Regions from separate parts of the Homo sapiens genome. Here all the other regions are linked to region 1. The links are contacts of gene promoters, found by promoter capture Hi-C in human tissues and cell types (Jung and others, 2019). All regions are on one chromosome and are shown on one strand. Each heading gives the region's core, a stretch centred on a gene start or on the middle of the fragment in contact. The rest is flanking DNA. Distances are from core to core; before and after follow the strand shown.

Region 1 (3,098 bases), core at 151-2,650:
CCAAGGACAGTGTGCCTGCGAGTGTGCGCAGATGGGGCGGGCGGCGGAGGAGGGCTGGCGGTTAGATACAGTATCGCTGGAGCTCAGAGAGCCGGGCAGAGGCTGGCGGAGAGCCGAGGCTGGCCCAGCCTTCAGGAGACCGGCGAGCTGGGGTGTGTGGGAGCGGGATGCTTCTAAGGCGAAAAGAAGCGCCAGCCTCGTAAGCGGCCTCTATCTGGGCTGCCCAGGCCGGATGCTCAGGAGCCCACAGCAGGGGGGATGGAGCGAAGGACCGAGGGGCTGGGAGGCGAGGCCGCAGCGCACTGACGCAGGCCAGCGAGGCCGCTGGCCCCGACGCAGGGCGCCCGGCAAGGTGTCTGGCACCACGAGAGTCAATCCTTGCGCGCCATCTCCGGAGGCCAGTGCGCCCAGGGCGCGCCGGCCCGGCAGGAGGGTGGGTGCCAGCCTTTCTTCCCATCTCTCGAGCCTCCTCCCCGGCGCCCACGTGGGCGGAGCAGCGCGAGGGTGTGCGTGGCAGGGGCCGCGGCGGCGTGTGCCGTGCGTGGGGTGGGGTGCGGGCTGGGCGGCCTCGCCTTCGGGCCCCGCGCCGCCGGGGCGCGGCCCCCAGCTCCATCTTCTTTGCCACCTGGGCGGAGATCTGGGGGACTGTGACCTACCCTGCGGAAGACACGGAGGGGACGGGCCGGCCACACCCCCCGCGCCACTCCGGCAGGCACCGGGTGGGTCCCCCTCCCGCTCCTTGGCTTGAGGGCGGAATCCGGAGAAGAGTGGAAATAGGGGTGGCGTGAAGGAGAGCTGGGGGCTGGGGGCGGGACCGGGAGGGGGTGTTGGGGGAAGCGACGCAGCGGCTGGGAGATTTTGCAAGGGGGTCTGAAGAGGAGTGGGGGATGGGTATGGAAGGGTGGGGGACCACTGAGGTGGGATGCGAGAGTGGAAGGGGGACCCAGAGGGGGCGCGATGGCCGGAGGAGGGGGAGATGGACGATGGGGCGGGGCGGCACCGGTCGCCGCGTCCCTTGCCGCCAGGTCCGCCCCTCGGTCGCCGGGTCCACGGGTTCCCTCTGGCCAGCGCTCGCCTCCCGCCCCCCGGCGCACCTGTACCCACCTGCTCGGCGCTCAGGCCCGAGCCGGGCAGCAGCAGCGGACGTAGCGAGCGCAGCCCCGCGCCGCATCCTCCGGCCGCCCCCTCCCCGCTGCGAGCTTACGCCGCTGTCGCCGCCGCCACCGCCTTAAAAAGGACAAAACGGAACAGAAAATGAATGCATGCACAAAAAAAATCGTAAAAAGCAATTGAGGAGGATGGCAGTCGCGCGCGCGGCTCGGCGGGGCGGGAGTCGAGAGGCCGCGGCACTGGTGGCCGCGATCCGGGCAGGCGGCCGGCGCGTGCCGCACGCGGGTGGCTGCAGCTCCCTCGGTCGCCCGCGCCCGGCTCAGGCACGGCACCGCCCCTCCCCCCGGGGAGCCCCTCCGATTGGTCTGTCTTCCTGCCAGTCAGGCAGGAGGGCGCGGCGCCCGCCCCGCCCCGCCCCCGCCCCCGCCCCGGGCAGATGCCGGGAGCTCTCCTGCCGCCGTGGGAGGGGGAGCTGAGCTGCCGGAGCGTGCGCACTGGGCCAGCGGGCGGCCGGGGCAGGGCTGGGGTCCCGGCGCTGAGCGCCCCCAGCCGCGCCGGGCAGCCTGGCGCCTCGCTGAGTCGGAGCAACCCCCGGCAGGAGCTTTCAGGCTCTGGTCAAGCCTCGGGACCCGGGAAGCTATCCCTGCCCTCGGGGGCTCGAGCCTGGAGTGGGGCTTGCAGGTAAAGCGGGGCTGGGGCCGTCCTGGCCGTCAGTGGTCAGGAAGACGCAGCGACCCCGGAGATCCATGTCCCCCTCTGTACGCATGAGAGGTCTGAAGGTCAGAGGTTAAAGCGCACGCTAACGGCGGCAGAGCCAGCAAGCGGCAGAGCTGGGCGGATGCCAGCCTAGGGAGCCTCCCCCCACCAGCCCAGGCTGCCCCCAGCAAAGCCACATCAGCAGGTCATAGCCAAATGAAAGATGTGCTGTCGAGCTGAGACTTGGGAGGGGCAGGACTCAGCTGGGCAAACATTCATTCAGTGTCATTAGACAAATATTTATTGAGCACTTGCTGTGTGCCAGGTAGTCACTAAGATGTGGGGACACCACAGTGAACAGCAGAGAGGAAGCGGCTGCCCACCAGAGCTTACTTTCTAGCAAGGAGAAGGCAGGGAAGAGCACCCACCAAAGGGAGCAGCATGGGGGAACACCCTGACTGCTGTGAACGGGACATATTTGAGAATCTGATAAAAGTATCTGGGCCACAGAATGGTGAGAGGGAGTGTGTGGAAGATGGGGGGCGGGGGCACAGAGGGGCAGCACTTGCAAGGTCTTGCAGGCTGGCGAGAGTTTGGAGACTGTCTCACCTGGAAGGTGGTCCCATGGACCATTGTCAGATTGATATTTTTTAAAGTGCATCAGTCAGGATAAGCTATGTTAGCCACAGTAACAACCAAACCCAAATCTCCCTGGTGTGTCTTGCCCACATCATACATCCTGCCTCGGTCAATGGGGCTCTGTTCATCAGAGTGGTTGGGAGCCCAAGCTGCTGGGGCTGTCTGCCAGCCGAGCACCCACATGGTGCAGCAATGTGAATGAAAGGTGACAATTATGCTGGCTTTGAAGGCTTCCTCCCCGAAGGGACTCTCGTCACTTCTGCTCACGTTTCATTGGCCAGAGCAGGTCACATGGCCATGCCTAACTTCAGAAGAGGAGGAAGTGCAGACCTCTAAGGTTCAGGGGGTCAGGAGGAACTAGGATATCTGTGAGCAGATGTGAGACTATCTTTAGCAGATGCCCTGGCTGCCCTTGGGGCATGGGCTGAAGTAGTCAAGAGTGGGGACAAGGAGGCAGTGTGGGGGCCTCCTCCACGCTGATACAGTGAAGTATCAGCGCATCAGAGCAATCTGGGTGCAGAATTGGCAGGACATGCTCACGGCTTGGACGTGGACAGGAGGGAGGGAGGGACAATCAGGGACAATGCCCAGGTATCCTGGGATGAATTGTGTTCCCCCCACCCACCCCCTCAAAAAAAAAAACTCGTATGTTG
Region 2 (3,163 bases), core at 347-2,846, 65 kb after region 1:
CTCTGCCTTCAGAGATGAGCACATCACCACTCAGACCCATGGGAGGGCTCAGAACTACCCGGCGACAATGCAGTGTGTGTGTGTGGCAGGTGGGTGTGTGCACGGGGGTGTGTGTGGAGGTGCTGGCAGGCGTAGGCCTCTGATGTGGCACCAGCCCTGGTGACACAGAGCCGTGTGACCAGCACCGAGCCCCCCACGACACCCCCACCAGCCACAACTCCAGCCACTTGGGCTGTGATTCCAAGGAGACTGTAGAGTGGGCAGGGAACTCAGGTTTATAAAGGGAACACTGGGAAGGAGGGAGGAGTGGTGGGCCCAGGGTGGGATATGAGCAGGGAAGTGGGAGAGGACGAAGGAGGGGGGTGGGAGCCCAGAGGCTCTACGGCCCAGCAGCTGCAGGGTGTGTGATCCTGGGAAGCTTCCATACCCTCAGACCCTCGGACAGTGAGGGAGGCTGCCCCGTGTGTCACATTGTGTTAGGAAGATCTGTCGGGGTATAGCAGCAAAGAGAGCTTCCTACCTTAGATGTGGTCAAGGCCTGGTGGGATGGCCTCAGGAAAGAGGCAGTGGATGGGGCACATGGCCTGAGTGAGCTCCAGACCTTGCTAAATTGCAAAGGCACCCATGCGGTTCCTCTGCTGCACCCCTATCCAGGACTCCCCATAGAATGCAGACTTCTGGTCCAGCTGGCCTGGGCAGGACAAGCTCTCCAGGTGGCGCTATGTGCATAGCCTGAGCTAAGCACCTCCAGCTTGCAGCATGGCTTCTCTAGCTTGCTTTATTTATTTATTTAGAAACAGGGTCTCACTATGTCATCCAGGGTGGTCTTGAACTCCTGGGCTCAAGCAATCCTCCTGCCCAAGCCTCCCGAGTACCTGGGACTACAGGCATATGCCACCACTGGCTCCAACCTTAATGTGCATGCAAATCCCAAGGGCATCTTATTAAAATGCAAATTCTGACTGAGGAGGTCCATGGTTGGCGCGGGATTCTGCATTCGTAACAGGCGTCCAGGTGACTGAGGAATGCTGGATGCTGATGTTGCTGGTCTGGTGGACCCATCACACTATGAACCACACTGCTTTATACTCATGGGTCTCAAATGTTCCTATGTCTCACAAACCCCCCAGGAACCTGTTAAAATGCAGATTCCTGGGCCTGGCTCCCAGGGATGCTGACAAGGCTAGTCCTAGGGTTTCGCTGTGCTAGAAGTCCAATGTGTGGCCGACATGCCCAAACATGTTCTGTTCTTTTCTATTCTTATCTCTTTTACTTTTTCTTTCCTTATCTCTTTTACTTTTTCTTTTCTTTTCTCTTCTCTTCTCTTCTCTTCTTTTGAGACAGGGTCTCACTCTGATGCCCAGGCTGGAGTGCAGTGGTGCAATCTTGGCTCACTGCAGCCTCAAACTCCCCAGTTCAAGCAATCCTCCCATTTCAGCTTCCTGAGTAGCTGGGACTATGGGCACATGCCACCACGTCTGGCTGATTTTTAAATTTTTTTGTGGAGATGGGTTTTTGCCATGTTGCCTAGGCTGGTCTTGAACTTCTGGGCCCAAGCAATCCCCCTGGCTTGGCCTCCCAAAGTGCTGGGATGACAGGTGTGCGCTACCATGCCCAACCAGCCGCACATGTTGTTTTTTTGTTGTTGTTTTTTGTGTGTGATGGAGTTTCGCTCTTGTTGCCCAGGCTAGAGTGCAATGGTGTGATCTTGGCTCACCGCAACCTCAGCTTCCCGAGTAGCTGGGATTACGGGCATGCGCCATCAAGCCCGGCTAATTTTGTATTTTTAGTAGAGACGGGGTTTCACCATGTTGGTCAGGCTGGTCTCAAACTCCCGACCTCAGGTGATCCACCCCCCACCTCCAGGCCTCCCAAAGTGCTGGGATCACAGGCGTGAGCCACCATGCCTGGCCCATGTTGTTCTTATCTCATTAACCCAGTGGGCTAAAAACTCATTGCCACACTCAGTAGCTTAAACCACAGAAATGGATTCTGCCACAGTTATGAAGGCCGGAAGTCTGAAATCAGTGTCACTGGGCAAAAATCAAGGAGAATCTGTTCCCTGCTCTTCCAGATTCCAGGGACTGCCTGCATTCCTTGACTTGTGGCCACATAATTCCTATCTTCAATGCCAGCGTCTTGGAATCTCTCTCTGCTCTATGTCCACATCAACTTCTCCGTGTGTGGTCAAATCTCTGTCTGCCTCTCTCCTGCAAGGAGATAAGCCAGGCTAATGGCCCCTTCTCAAAATCCTTAATCACATCTGCAAAAACCCTTTTCTAAATAAGGTACCATTCACAGGCTCCAGGAAGTGATCTCTTTGGGGGCCTTGTACACCAATAGCCTGTAAACCGCCACACTCTGCTGTCTTTCAAATGACAACTCACCAAGCCTCTGTCCTCATTTTCTTTGAATACTTGGCATGTAGTCCAATGCCTGGAACAGGCAGGATGTCACTAAATGTTTATATTTTTTAATTTTTATTTATTTTATTATTATTCTTATTATTTTTGAGACAGAGTTTTACTCTGTCGCCCAGGCTGGAGTGCAGTGGCATGATCTCTGCTCACTGCAACCTCCAGTTCCTGGGATCAAGCGATTCTCCTGCCTCAGCCTCCTGTGTAGCTGGGATTACAGGCATGTGCCATGACGCCCGGCTAATTTTTTTGTATTTTTAGTAGAGATGGGGTTTCTCCATGTTGGCCAGGCTGGTCTCGAACTGCTGACCTCAAGTGATCCACCCACCTCGGCCTCCCAAAGGGCTAGGATTACAGGTGTGAGCCACCACGCCTGGCCAAAAGTCACTAAATGTTTGTTGAGTAAATGGAAGTAGGTTTTAAATAGGTGTAGGGAAGGAAGTGGGCCAAGAACTTGAATGCAGAGTCTGAAAATCATGGGCAGACATCAAAGGACTGAATTGTGGGGGGTATATTTGGATGTCAGGTTAAAGAGTTTGGACACTGTCCTATGGGCAAGAAAGAGCTTATATGAAGTCCTTGCATAGGTGATTCATCCATCCATCCATCCATTCATTCATTCAATACTCAGCAGCAACATGCAGAGCTCAGCTCTTGGGGGAATGAGGACAGGTGTCCTAGAAAAGATAGCATTGAACAGCTGGCTCTTTCTCCCACCAGAGTTGTGTTTTAATAAGTTCTAGTAT
Region 3 (3,498 bases), core at 822-3,321, 120 kb before region 1:
GCTGTGAGAATTCAATGAGATTGTTTAAATACCCACTCATCTGAGAATCCAGGACCTAGCAAATCACCAATGAGCCAGGCCACTCTAAGTGGCATTACCTGAACGCTGCAGTAAAGGCCACCAGGAGGCAGCCTGGGAGCCAAATTGCACCCATAGATATATTTTATGTGGCCCACAGGTATATATTTTACAGGCTGAGTGTCCTTTATCTGAAATACTTGGAACCAGAAGGAATTTTGGATGTTTTTTCAGATTTTGGAATATTTGCATAAACAGAATAAGGTATCTTGGGGATGGGACCCAAGTCTAAACATGAAATTCATTTGTTTCATATACACTTTATATATAATACATAGCCTGAAGGGAATTGTATATAATATTTTAAATAATTTTGTGCATGAATCAAAGTTTTGATAGTGTTTTTACTGCAACCTGTCACATGAGGCCAGGTGTGAAATTTCCCTGGCCTCATGTTGGTGCTGAGAAAGTTTCAGATTTTGGAGCATTTTGGATTTCGGATTTTTGGATTTTGGATTACGGATGTTCAACCTGTATTTGGACATATAAAATTACAGACATTTAAAATCCAGCATTTAAATCCTTCAATTTCATATAAAGTAAGGTGTTATGGATTAAACTGTATCCCCCCAAAAAGATAGGTCGAGGTCCTAATCCCAGTACCTCAGAATGTGACTTATTTGGAAATAGGATCATTGCAGATGTAGTTAAATTATCATGAGGTCACGTTGGAGTAGGGTGGACTCCTAATCCAGCATGAGTGGTGGCTTTATATGTGAAGCCACAGAGACACACAGGTAGAATGTCACTGACAATGAAGGCAGAGATTGGAGTTCAAGCTGCAAACCAAGGACACCAAAGATTGCTGGGAAACCACTCTAAGCTAGGAAGAGGAAAGGAGGGGTCTGCTACGGGTTTTAGAGGGAGGGAACGTGGCTCTACCGACACCTTAATTTCAGCATTCTGGCCTCTAGAACTGTAAGATAATACATTTCCTTTCCTTTTTTTTTTTTTTTTTTTTTTGAGACAGGGTCTTGCTCTGTCACTGAGGCTGGAGCTCAGTGGCAAAATCATGACTCACTACAGCCTTGACCTCCTGGGCTCAAGCAGTCCTCCTGCTTCAGCCTCCAAAGTAGCTGGGACTTCAGGTGCCACCACATCCAGCTAATTTTTTTAATTTTTTGTAGAGACAGGGTCTTGCTATGTTGCCCAGGCTGATCTCAAACTCCTGGGCTCAAGCGATCCACCCACCCTGGCCTTTCAAAGTGCTGGAATTACAGGCATGAGCCACTGTGCCCGGTCTTTTTCGGTGGCTCTAAGCCACTGATTTTGTGGTACTTTGTTAAGGCAGCCCTAGGAAGCTAACATACAAGGATTTATATTTCCCTTGAAAAACTGGACTATCTGATGCCATCGGTCCACCTTCTTATAGCAACCAGGATTCAGGGCCCAGTTTGCCACAGTCCCCACCATTCCCTGTTGTCACCCTGACACCAAGACCACATGTCTTTGGCCATTCACTATCACATTTGCACAGCTGTTTCCCTTATAGATGAGAAATATTTCTCTATAACCACATCTCCATCAAAAGATAAACCAAACGGGGCACTTGTGTTCAATAAAAAGGAGAGAAGACCAGCCTAGCCAAAATGGTGAAACCCTGCCGCTACTAAAAATACAAAATTTAGCCGGGCGTGGTGGCATGTGCCTGTAGTCCCAGCTACTCGGGAGGCTGAGGCAGGAGAATCATTTAAACCTGGGTGGTGGAGTTTGCAGTGAGCCGAGATGGTGTCACTGCACTCCAGCCTGGACAACAGAGTGAGACTCTGTCTAAAAAAAAAAAACAAAAAAAAAATGGAGAGGAGAACTGTGTCTTTGTGGGAGCCAAAAATAGGTTTACAGGTTTAAAGGCAAACTATGCTTTTTTTTTTTTTTTTGGTATCAGCTCCAGTGCGCTCTTTACATTCCAGATTGGTCCCTGTGGGCATTTGAATTTTATAAGCCCAGCTCCTTCAGACACTGTTACTAGGAAATAGCAAAAGACCTATATTTTCCAAAAAAGACTACAGTTCTGCATGATTCCAAAAAAACACAAAGCTCCTGATTTTTTTAGAACAGGATATGCTCTCATATAAACCAACCCTGAATGTCCCTTAAATCCTTCAAAAGGTTTAAGTATTTATGTTTTTAATTTTGGGTGAATATACCCTGAAGCCTAAGTGGAGAATACATCAGGAAGTTTTCCATGAATAAATTACAATAACTGGGTCACATGACACGGCCATATTTATGTTGCTTTGAGAGACGGTGATGACAGGCTTTTCATCATCAGGCATGCAGAGATGTGTGTGTCTGCTTCAGGACCCCTCTGTAAAACCTCCCCACTCCACGACCCATCTGCCCTGCAGATCCGTGACACAGCGGCAAGGTAGGGCAGGTGCACCATCGCAGGCTCACCTTGGGCGGTTTCAGACTTTTCCCTCGATGCCTTTTGGAGCGCAACAGCCGTTCTCTCTCCTAGAAGGAAACACAACGGTTGGCATTTCCAGCCAGCCTCACATCTCACAAACCAAAGCCACTGGCTCTCAAAGGGAGCTGGGCCTGCCCATCCGCACCAGGCATGGCTAGTTGAAGTTCTAAGTGCCCAAGTGATGGCTGCTTCTCTGAACTGAGAGCTACAGGGAGAGTTTATTATCCACCTTTTGACTTTATTGTTATTTCACTGAAATATATTTTTCATCCTAAGCTGCATTGAGTCTTTTGTGTAATGAAGCAAAGATGGATGGATAGATAGATGTATGCATAGATAAGTGGATGGAAGGATGAAAGAATGGGTGAGTGGATGGATGGATGGGTGGACAGATGGGTGGGTGGATGGATGGATGGATGGATGGGTGAAAGGAAGAAAGAGAGAAGTTAAAGAGGTAGAGGGAGATGGAGGCAGGCAAAATGAACATGAAAATTATAATCAAAGCCTTTTCTAGAATTTTGATCACTAGCTTTTCTATTCTTTGAAAACCAGTGCATGGAACCATCACACACCCACTTTGGTGAGCAGAACACGTTCTACTTCTAAGATCCAACTAAAGCTCCCTGCAGGTGTTCTCTGCCTGTTGCCGAAGTTCCTTTCACAGAGAGCTGTGGAATTCTCTGGATGCAATTCTCCACCGCTTAGGACATACTCAACCCCCTTTGATAGATGCACGCCCCATATACACGTCCAAAACTCACACAGGCAGTCTTAGCAAGGTGCTGGTCTGGTTATAAGGTTCAAGTTTGTGGGCCTAAACTCACAGTCTGCAACTGCTAAGCTAAAAACCAACCAACCAACCAACCAAACAAACAAAAAGCCTTCTCTGGAACAGATCATGCCCAGTCTCTAAAGGCCAAAAGACATCCTTAAAACTGATGCTTCTCAATCACAGCAAGCTAGGGAGAAGATGTGAGAAAAGGGTAGCCATGGAAACTGTCCCCAAGTAC

What was found. Contacts are between HindIII fragments. The study calls those that stand out against the background at their distance.
Region 2: a contact is called between a fragment that was not itself captured here and the fragment with the promoter of JAKMIP1 in region 1, in 2 of the 25 tissues and cell types used here (pancreas and thymus).
Region 3: a fragment that was not itself captured here is called in contact with the fragment with the promoter of JAKMIP1 in region 1 in 3 of the 25 tissues and cell types used here (dorsolateral prefrontal cortex, mesendoderm cells and thymus).

What each region holds. Positions count from the first base shown.
Region 1 is chr4:6,199,149-6,202,246 of GRCh38, forward strand. It overlaps JAKMIP1 (janus kinase and microtubule interacting protein 1), which reads right to left and starts at 1,401. Exons shown (of 21, transcript NM_001099433.2): 1 at 1,105-1,401. JAKMIP1-DT (JAKMIP1 divergent transcript) reads left to right here and starts at 1,585. Exons shown (of 4, transcript NR_037863.1): 1 at 1,585-1,791. RefSeq lists silencers at 437-786, 1,057-1,816 and an enhancer at 2,919-2,968. The HindIII fragment of the contact is 28,205 bases long and covers 1-3,098 here.
Region 2 is chr4:6,263,651-6,266,813 of GRCh38, forward strand. No RefSeq gene overlaps it. Among named protein-coding and RNA genes, the nearest start is that of WFS1, 4.6 kb to the right of the region's middle. RefSeq lists an enhancer at 783-1,982. The HindIII fragment of the contact is 5,964 bases long and covers 1-3,163 here.
Region 3 is chr4:6,076,464-6,079,961 of GRCh38, forward strand. JAKMIP1 (janus kinase and microtubule interacting protein 1) reads right to left here. Exons shown (of 21, transcript NM_001099433.2): 8 at 2,476-2,535. Among named protein-coding and RNA genes, the nearest start is that of C4orf50, 60 kb to the left of the region's middle. The HindIII fragment of the contact is 8,055 bases long and covers 1-3,498 here.